Regions from separate parts of the Homo sapiens genome. Here regions 1 and 3 are each linked to region 2. The links are contacts of gene promoters, found by promoter capture Hi-C in blood cells and fetal thymus (Javierre and others, 2016). All regions are on one chromosome and are shown on one strand. Each heading gives the region's core, a stretch centred on a gene start or on the middle of the fragment in contact. The rest is flanking DNA. Distances are from core to core; before and after follow the strand shown. Region 1 overlaps ATAD2B (ATPase family AAA domain containing 2B). Region 2 holds the start of PFN4 (profilin family member 4). Region 3 overlaps ATAD2B (ATPase family AAA domain containing 2B).

The links. Contacts are between HindIII fragments. The CHiCAGO score rates a contact against its expected background, and 5 or more counts as called.
Region 1: a contact is called between a fragment that was not itself captured here and the fragment with the promoter of PFN4 in region 2, in 1 of 17 cell types (naive B cells). The highest score is 5.6, in naive B cells.
Region 3: a contact is called between a fragment that was not itself captured here and the fragment with the promoter of PFN4 in region 2, in 1 of 17 cell types (naive B cells). The highest score is 5.2, in naive B cells.

Annotation. Positions count from the first base shown.
Region 1 is chr2:23,851,318-23,854,745 of GRCh38, reverse strand. All of the region lies in intron 13 of ATAD2B (ATPase family AAA domain containing 2B), which reads left to right. Among named protein-coding and RNA genes, the nearest start is that of ATAD2B, 74 kb to the left of the region's middle. The HindIII fragment of the contact is 4,900 bases long and covers 1-3,428 here.
Region 2 is chr2:24,121,457-24,124,853 of GRCh38, reverse strand. It overlaps PFN4 (profilin family member 4), which reads left to right and starts at 1,520. Exons shown (of 5, transcript NM_199346.3): 1 at 1,520-1,736; 2 at 2,307-2,435. The coding sequence starts at 2,319. It overlaps FAM228B (family with sequence similarity 228 member B), which reads right to left and starts at 1,385. Exons shown (of 11, transcript NM_001145710.2): 1 at 1,321-1,385; 2 at 394-524. The coding sequence starts at 492. RefSeq lists an enhancer at 634-883 and a silencer at 954-1,453. The HindIII fragment of the contact is 10,311 bases long and covers 1-3,397 here.
Region 3 is chr2:23,789,888-23,793,363 of GRCh38, reverse strand. All of the region lies in intron 19 of ATAD2B (ATPase family AAA domain containing 2B), which reads left to right. Among named protein-coding and RNA genes, the nearest start is that of ATAD2B, 140 kb to the left of the region's middle. The HindIII fragment of the contact is 857 bases long and covers 825-1,681 here.

The DNA of each region.
Region 1 (3,428 bases), core at 594-3,093, 270 kb after region 2:
GTGGCAATAATTTTCTTGGATGTTTTCTTTGAAAATATTAATAGCGTTAGCTTTTTTTTTTTTTTTTGAGACGAAGTCTCGATCTTGTGCCCCAGGCTGGAGTGCAATGGCACGATCTTGGCTCACTGCAACCGCCGCCTGCCAGGTTCAAGCGATTCTCCTGCCTTGGCCCCCCGAGTAGCTGGGATTACAGGTGCCTGCCACCACGCCTGGCTAATTTTTGTATTTTTAGTAGAGGTGGGGTTTCACCATATTGGCCAGGCTGGTCTAGAACTCCTGACCTCAGGTGATCCACCCACCTCGGCCTCCCAAAGTGTTGGGCTTACAGGCATGAGCCACTGTTCCCAGCCAGTGTTAGCTCTTAATATTTAAGTCAATGATTCATTTTACGTTAATGTTTGTGTATCAGTAAGAGGTGAGGGTTTAAGTTAATTTTTGTAGATAGTTTAAGGTATGGACTGAAGTTTATTTTTTTAATACAGGTATTCTTTTTTTTTCTTTGAGACGGAGTGTCACTCTGTTGCCCAGGCTGGAGTGCAGTCGCGCGATCTCAGCTCACTGTAGCCTCCACCTCCCAGGTTCAAGTGATTCTTGTGCCTCAGCCTCCTGAGTAGCTGGGATTACAGGTGTGTGCTACCATGCCTGGCGAATTTTTGTATTATTAGTAGAGGTATGTTTCACCATGTTGGCCAGGCTGGTCTCGAACTTCTGACCTCAGGTGATTCTCCTGCTTCGGCCTCCCAAAGTGCTGGTATTACAGGCATGAGCCACCATGCCCAGCCTATTTTTTTATACAGATACTCATTTGTTCCAGAACCATATATTGAAGAGTTTACTTTGTTAAATTTCTTGGCACGTCTTTGACAAAAATTGACCATATAAATGTGTGTCTATTTCTAGATTTGTTAGTTGATTCCATTGATCTACAGGTCTATCCTTATACCACTGTCTTGATTAATGTTCATTTTAGTATAAGTCCTCCAAATTTGTTCTTTTTCAGAATTGTTGTAGTCATCTATTATCTTTCCATTTACATTTCTAAAGCCTCTTGTCAGTTTCTTTAGAAAAGACTGTTGGGATTTATTTGGGATTGCAATTAATCCTTCGATCTATTTGGGAAGAATTGCATCCTTATTCGTCTTTCAGTCTATGAACATGGTAATTCTGTTCATTTATTTAGGTATTCTTTAATTTCCTTTTCCTGTGTCTTATGGTTTTAGCATAAGGATCTTAGGCATCTTTTGTTTAATGCATCCCTAAATACTTTATTGTTCATTTAATGTGAATGGAGTTTTGAAAGAAAATTTATTTTCTAATTGCTTACTGCTGGTTTATAAAAATACAACTGAGTTTATAGACTTTGTATCCACAACCTTGCTAAATTCATTTGTTAGTTCTATTAGCTATTTTGTGGTTTCCTTACGGTTTTATACATATACCTTATCTGCAAATAAAGGTACTTCTACTTCTTCCTTTCCAATCTATGTCTTTTATTTCTTTTTCTTATTTCTTTGGCTAGAATTCAGTTAAATAGTAATGGTGATAATGGAAATCACTGCCTGTTTCCTTCATTGGCTGTAAAACATTGAGACTTTAACCATTGAATGTGATTTTAACTAAGTTTTTCATAGGTGCCCTTTATTACATTGAGGGATTTCCACTATATTCCTAGTTTGCTGTGAGAGTTTATTTTACTGGGATAGAGTACTGAACTTTGTAACATATTTTTTTTTCTGTCTCTTTTGAATTGATCATATGGCTTTTCTCCTGTATTCTATTAAGGTAGAGCATTATTTTGATTGAATTTTAGATTTTTTTTTTTTTTTGGAGATGGAGTCTCGCTCTGTCGCCCATGCTGGAGTGCAATGGCGTGATCTCGGCTCACTGCAACCTCCACCTCCTGGGTTCAAGTGATTCTCTTGCCTCAGCCTCCCGAGTACCTGGCATTACAGGTGTCTGCCACCGTGCCTGGCTAATTTTTGTGTTTTTAGTAGAGACAGGGTTTCACCATGTTGGTCAGGCTTGTCTTGAACGCCTGACCTCAGGTGATCCACCTGCCTCGGCCTCCCGAAGTGCTGGGATTACAAGTGTGAGCCACTGCGCCTGGCCTGAATTTTAGATAGTAAACTAACTTTGCATTCTTAGAATAAACCTCACTTGCTCATAATATATTGTCTTTCTTAAAAAATTATTGGATTCCACTTGCTAATATAAAAAGTTTTATTATCTGTATTAATGAGATTTTGATCTGTAATTACTCTTAAAATATCTGCATCTGGTTTTGGAATCAGGTAATTTTGATGTGTATTAGATGAGATATACACTGGGTGTGATGGTGCATGCCTGTAATCTCAACACTTTGAGAGGCTGAGGCAGCAGGATCTCTTGAGTCTAGGAGTGCAAGAGCAGCCTGGGCAACATAGTGAGACCCTGTCTCTTAAAAAAAAAAAGATGAGATGGCATTCCCTCTTTCTCTATTTTCTGAAAGTGTTTGTGTAAGTTTGATGTTATTCATTTCTTAAGTGTTTGAGAGAATTCACCAGTGAAAATACCTGGGCCTGGAGTTTTGTTTATGGAAAGGTTTTTGATTACAAGTTAAATTTCTTCAGTTGATACAGGGCTGTTCAAGTTTTCTATTTATTCTTAGGTCAGTTTTGTTAGTTTGGTAGTTTATCTTTAAAGGAATTTGTTCATTTCACCTAAGTCAAGAAATTTACATACATTTTTTCCTACTATTCTGTTATCTCCTTAATGCCTAAATAGTCTGCGGTAGTATTCTTTTCATTTCCGATGGTGATAACCTGTGTTTTCTCTTTTTTTTTTTCTTGATTACTCCGGCTAGAGGATTATCAATTTTATTGGTCCTTTCTCCCCCAAAGAGGCAACTTCTGTTTTCATAGATTTTCTACTATTATTTTTGTTTCCAATTTTATACTACCTTTTTTCTTATATTTTTAAAAATTAGTAGACTGAGGGGGATTTGTAGGCAGAGTATAAAAGATTTTTTAGGGCAGTGAAAATAGTCTGTGTTATACTGTAAGAGTGGATCCACATCATGATATGTTTGTCCAAACCCATAGAATGTATATCATCAAGCGTGAACCTTAATGTAAACTGTGGACTTTGTAGATTGTGATGTGTCATTGTAGGTTCATCAGTTGAAATAAGTGCACCACTCTGTTGGGGCATGGGTATACATATGAAGGGGCAGGCGGGGGACGTATGAAAGTCTCTGTATTTCCTTCTCAATTTGGCTGTTAACCTAAAACTGCCCTAACAAATGGTCTTAAAAATAGACTATTCATGACTGGGCACAGTGGCTCACACTTGTAGTCCCAGCACTTTGGGAGGCCAAGGACAGTGGATCTCTTGAGCTCAGCAGTTTGAGACCAGCCTGGGCAATGTGGCAAAACCGTGTCTCTACTAAA
Region 2 (3,397 bases), core at 271-2,770:
ACATGGTGGCGTGCGCCTATACTTCCAGCTACTAGGGAGTGGAAGGATGGCTTGATTCCAGGAGGAAACATAGCAAGACCCTGTCTCAAATATAAATAAATAAATAAATACATCATATCAAAATTTGGGTGATGCAGCTAAGGCAGTACCTCAAGAGAAACTTATAGCTATGTTACATTTTAAAAGGTATATAATCAATGACCTATGATTCCACCTTAAGATGTTAGAAAAAAACAGCAAAGTGAATATACAAAGTTAGTAAAGTGAAGGGAATAATAAACAGAATGAAATAAAAACAAACAATAGAAAAAACAATATATTTAGCACAAGCCACTTCCTACTGCAACGATCCAAGTAAAAAAATCTCCAAATCCCACACTATTTGATATATACCTCCATAAAACAAAGGGGCTTGGGCTCCAACCATTCTTTTGAGCTCTTGAGCTTGGGAAGTGTGCCAGTTACCAGATCATCACTGTCTACATTTTTCATTGTGGTCACAAATAACAATGCCCCTGGAAAAACTAAAAATCATCTTATTTAGTATTGAACATTTCACAGTCATCTGATTTTCTCTTCTGTTTAATACCACCTGTGTCCTTGCACACACGCAAAATGGATTTTGAACACTAACCATCCAGTTTCCCTAACAAGAGGCCTTCACTACAGACTCCAGATGACGGCTTCAGAGCCAGCCTCCTTTATAAGCAGGCGAGATGCTCTTTGAAAGAATCCCCCGTCCCTTGGAATGGATTCCCACGTCCCCCTCCAAGGCAGCCCATTCCAGCCAGTGTGGCAGCTTCAGCCTGGCCTCTCGGAGTCCCATTTGCAACACTTTTCTGACTTTGGTGGCCTCGAGTGGGAAGAACTGCAACTTTCTGGCCACAGAAACACAGGCTGAGCTGCTTAGAGAAGGCAGGGAGGGGCTTTCGGTCATACTGCGCGAGTCTTCGAGCTCTGAGCGGCTCGAAGTCCTCCCCGAGGCACGGGTGCGACGGGGATGTCGTAGGCGTCCGCACCCGCTCTCGCTCATCGCGCCCACTCCCGGCCCTTCCTCCCACCCACTAGGCCGGGCGCCTGCGGCCTCCACGCCAGCCCCGGGCCGGGGGCCTCCCGCGCAGGCGCGTCGTGCGCGGGGACCGCCCGGCCTGGCGGGGAGGTCGCCGGCCGCGACAGGCACCTCTCTGCCCTCCCAAGGCCAGCAGGCCCGCGGCCGTCCTGCTACACACTCGGGCCCGGCCCGACGACCCCGGAGCCGTCCGACTGCGGCTGGAAGGGAGCCCGCCCGCGTCTGCGGAACGCGCGAATGTTGGCGCCCACCGTCTCCCGGACGCAGCGCCGCGCGAGCACTCCGCCCCCTGCGCCGCGGGTTCCACAGCGAGTCCGCGCGGGCGGTGCCGGGGCGGCGGAGGACGGCTTCAGGCCCAAAGGGGATTGGGCGGCGGCTCTAGGTGGCGGGTCTTGGTTTGCGGAAGGGGCTGGAGTCGCTGCTTCTCGGTGACCGGCGCGTGGCCCGGCCAATCCTGCCGCCGCCACCCACCCGCAACCGCGTCCGTTGACGGTCGGGTCCTTGGTCGCCGGGTCCTTGCGGGCACCACAGAGCGGGGTGGCGTCCGCTCCCTCGAGTCCTCGGTGCCAGGGAATTCACCGCTCACCACCCCCTGCCCCGCCTTGGGTCCTGCTCGGGGACCAAACCACTGGAAGGCAGTGGCGGGAAACGGGCGCCTGTGCCGGAGGTCCTGATGAGGGGGGTCCAAGGCTTGGGGACTTGTGCGGGAAATGTGGGTTTAAGTGCCTTCAAGGTGTTTTTAGTCCATTGGGATGTTGATCAGCGTTCATAGCTGGCGCTGATGCAGGTCACCGGGAAGGGAATGTGTGGGTTTATGGCCACGCATAATCTCTTTTAGTCGTGTTTAACTTAGCAGGGTAGCTCTCCATCCTGGCTGGGTTTTGTTTTTTGTTTTTATTTTTTATTTTACAGAGTTTTTCTCAGTGTGTAATGTTTGTTTTTAAATCGCAGATAATCCTGATGTAAACCATTGACATAGCCAGAAAATCACCAGGCTGTGATTTTCCAAACTCAGCTTCATAACCTATTCTGTGTGAGCTGTGATTTTTCTATGATTCTGTTTTCCTCTTTGGGTACTGGTGGGCCCTGAATGATGGACCACCGTTTTCACCCTGTACCTTTTCAAAGTACACTTGCTGATCTTAGAACTGTCTGCAGTGTCTTAAGGACATTTGTATTCACATGCCTTTTAAAAGCTAGCCAGAGTCAATGGCTTCAACTGCACTTTCCCTTTCAGAGTTGAGGGAACATGAGCCATTTGCAGAGCTTATTGTTAGACACCCTCTTGGGAACCAAGCATGTGGACAGTGCAGCCCTCATCAAAATCCAGGAGCGGAGCTTGTGTGTAGCATCACCAGGTTTCAATGTAAGAAAAAACAAGTTTGGACCTAAGACTTGATTTACTTATTATTTCTATTCTTCCAAAAAATGAAGCAGACATGACTTTTTTTTTTTTTTGAGACGGAATTTCACTCTTGTTGCTTAGCCTGGGATGCAATGGCATGATCTCAGCTCACTGCAACCTCCGCCTCTCAAGCGATTCTTGAGCCTTAGCCTCCCGAGTAGCTGGGATTACAGGAGTGCGCTACCAGGCCCGGCTAATTTTTGTATTTTTAGTAGAGATGGTGTTTTACCATGTTGGTCAGGCTAGTCTCAAACTCCTAACCTCAGGTGATCCACCTGCCTCGGCCTCCCAAAGTGCTGGGATTACAGGCATGAGCCACCGTGCCCAGCCCAGACATGACTTTTAAATGAACTTTTTCTGTAAAGAGCTACATAAATATTTTAGGTTTCTAGGCTTAGTCTTTTTACTGTTGATATAAAGGAATACCTGAAGCTGGGTAATTTATAAAGAAAAGAGGTTTATTTGGCTCACAGTTCTACTGCCTGGAAGACTGGTCATCTGTGAAAGCCTCAGGCTGCTTCCACTCATGGCAGAGGTGAAGGGGAGCCAGCATGTGCAGAGATCACAGTGGGGGAGAGGAAGCAAGAGAGAGCAAGTGGAGAGGTGCCAGGCTCTTTCTAAGAGCCAGCTCTCCTGGAACAAATACAGTGAAAACTCACAGCTTCCCCCAGCTCGCAGGGAGGGCATCAGTCTATTCATGATCCAAATACCTCCCATTAGGCCCCACCGAAAACGCTGGGAATCAGATTTCAACATGAGATTCAAACTATAGCACAGGGCCGTAGAGTCTCTGTCACAACCACTCAACTCTGCAATTGTAGAGGAAAAACAGCCATACATAAAAGAATGAATGTGACTGTGTTCCAATAAAATTTTATATTTATGGATACTGAAGTTTGAATTTCATATAATTTGTAAGTGTC
Region 3 (3,476 bases), core at 4-2,503, 330 kb after region 2:
CAGAATTGTATTTCTGTTTCTGAAGACATTCACAGTATCTGCTTTGTTATTAAATTATTATGAGCAGGTTTAAGATTATATAATTCAGTATATTGGAAATGAATTTTAAAGAAATATTCCTCAGCTATGCTGATGAAAGTAAGATTACATATAGCATTTTGTTATCTTAAATGTTTCTTGTCATTGTCTCTCTAGGTTTATGGTAGGACCTGGGAGGGGAAAATCAGTAACTTCAATTAGAAAAATCAAGTAGGGGCATTGAAAACTCAGATTAATGATCATAAGATACAAGGGAACTGTTTTAATATTAATATTTTGGTAATAAAACAATTACGTGATTCTTAAAATTTAAGAGGAAGGAAATCTTCTCAAGTTTTTTTTTTTTTTTTTTTTTTTTTTTTGAGACAGAGTCTCTCGCTGTTGCCCAGGCTGGAGTGCAGTGGCACAATCTCGGCTCACTGCAAGCTCTGCCTCCCGGGTTCACGCCATTCTTCTGCCTAAGCCTCCTGGAGTAGCTGGGACTAAAGGCGCCCGCCACCACGCCCAGCTAATTTTTTGTATTTTTAGTAGAGAAGGGATTTCACTGTGTTAGCCAGTATGGTCTTGATCTCCTGACTTCGTGATCCACCCACCTCAGCCTCCCAAAGTGTTGGGATTACAGGTGTGAGCCACCGTGCCCGGCCACAAGTTTTTTTTCCCTAAGTGAAATAGGATAGTAGGTAAACATAGTTACTATTTTGAGATATGTAAACTATTTCTATTTTTATTTAATGGGTTGATATCCTATTTTGTTTTGAGCAAAGCAAATTTTATTTATGAAAGCTTTCTTAGGTTTATTTCTGACCTCTTTTTCACACCTTTTGTTATTGAGATCTTAAGTTCTTTTTTTTTTTTTTAGATCTTAAGTTCTTAACCATTAATTTTTCTTATTACAAAGGTTGCAGGAACCCTACCTTCAAAACTGGGGACTAACAATTCTAAGGAATGTGTTAATAAATTCGATAAAACAAAAAGGTTGGCCAGGTGCCATAGCTCATGCCTGTAATCCCAGCACTTTGGGAGGCTGAGGCTGGTGGATCACGAGGTCAGGAGATCGAGACCATCCTGGCCAACGTAGTGAAACCCCGTCTCTACTAAAAATACAAAAATTAGGCTGGGCGTGGTGGCACGCTGCTTGGGAGACTGAGGCAGGAGAATGGCGTGAACCCAGGAGGCGGAGCTTGCAGTGAGCCGAGATTGCACCACTGCACTCCAGCCTGGGCGACAGAGCAAGACTCCGTCTCAAAAAAAAAAAAAGATGGCTGTTATTAAAAAAAAACAGAAATTAACAAATGTTGATGAGGATGTGGAAAAAGGAGAACCTTTTTGCATTGCTGGTGGGAATGTAAAATTGTATAGCCACTGTGGAAAACAGTATGACATTATCTTAAATATATAAATGCCATATGATCCAGCCAATCAAGTTCTAGGTACTTACTCAAAAGAATTGAAAGCAGGGACTTGAACAGGTATTTGCACACCCATGTTCACAACAGCATCATTCATAGTAACCAAAAGGTGGAAACATCCTCAGTGTCCATTGATAGTTGAAAGGATAAACAAAATGTAGCATATACAATGGAACATTATTTAGCCTTAAAAAGGAGAAAATTTTGATGCATGTTGTAACATGGATGAAGCTTGAAGACATTATGCTAACTTAGTCATAGGACAAATTTTGTATAATTCCTTTTATATGAGGTTCCTTAGAGTATATGTAAATGGATGATAAGTGTATGAAAAGATGCTCATTATCAGTCATTCAGGAATGAAATACCACTGCAACCCACTAAAATATAGGTTGGGCAAGAGTAATTGCGTTTTTTGCCATTGAAAGCTGCAAAAAAAAAAAAAAAGTGCTTTTGCACCAACCTAATAGCTGTAATCAAAAATAAAGAATACCAAGTATTGGCAAGGATATAGAAACTGGAGTCCTTATATACTGCTGGTGGGATTGTAAAATGGTGCAGCCACTTTCCAAAGTTAAACATAAATTTATGGTATGACTCAGCAATTCCACTCCTAGTTATCTACACAAAAGAAATGAAAACATACTTTCACAGAAAGACATTTGTATGGGAATGTTTCTAGTTGTTGTACTCATACTAGCAAAAAGTGGAAACAATCCAAATGTTCCTTAATTGGTGAATGGCTAAACAAAATGTGATGAAATACTATTCAGCAATAAATGGAATGAAATACTAATACATACTACAACTTGGAAAAACCTGAAGTTTTAAGTGACAGAAGCCAGGCATAAAAGACTGTCAGTTGTATGATACAAAATGTCTAGAAGAGGCAATTCTCTAGAGACAGAAAGCATTATCAGTGGTTGTTAGGCTGGGACATGGGAGTGGGAGTGGGGATTGACTGCAGATAGGCCTGAGGAAACTTTTTGGGGTAATGGAAATGTTCTAAAATGTGCTTGTGATGGCTACACATCTGTAAAAATTTACTGAACATTATTGAACTGTTTTTTCAGAAATATTGGAAGGTGTGCCTAAGTGCATCTGGGAAAGTTAGGGAAGGCATCACACAGAAAGCATCAGCTTGAGTGGTGCATTAAAGAAGGGGTCAGGAATGAGTGAATACTATGTATCACAACCAGTGTGAACCAATGTGAAACAGAGCGTGATTTGTTCTGGGAATTATGGAAGGCTTGTCTTTGGTACACCATGAAGTTTGAGGCTAGGACTGTCAGAAGATAAAGTTAGGAGTGAACTTAGAGAAGTATAATTTATCCCACTTATAAAATGTTGGATTCTAAGGTGTTGGTAGTAACCTGGTAAGAATATCCATGGATTATTGTAGGCCTGTTCTTGGTATGCTTTTGTATTCATAAAGTGTTAACATAGTATTGAAAATTATCAGAGAAAATAGTTAAAATGAAATGTTTTGCCATTCTTGAACGAAATCGTGGTACGTCTAGGATATTAAGTTCTACTTATTTTTCAAGACCCAATTGATATAAGTGATTTCTGGTACATCTTACCTAGTGTCTTTTCACCCCTTGCAAGGTCTCTGCTCTGTTTTGCTACCTCTGTTACAGTACTCCCAGCATAGTATCATAATGCTTTTCTTCTGATACTCTAAAATCTTTGACAGCAGAGAACAAAGACATTTTCTTCAGTTTTATAACTGCAGTGTCTGGCATGATGTTTGACATACAAAGCATGTTCAGTAGTAAATTTACTTCCAGAACTTTCAAAGAAAGGCCATCAAAGCATTGATTAAAGGGTTGGAGGGAACTGTGCATGAAGGTAGTCTACAAAAGCACTGGAACGACACAAGGTGAAATTTTATGAACTTTTAAATGATTTGACTTTAGGTTGAGATAAATAATTCCCCATCCAGTTTTTGAATTCTGATGTTTACCTTTCATTGTTTCTTCTTCTCTTAGAATTTCAGAGCTGGAAAAGGCATTGACAGTTTATATA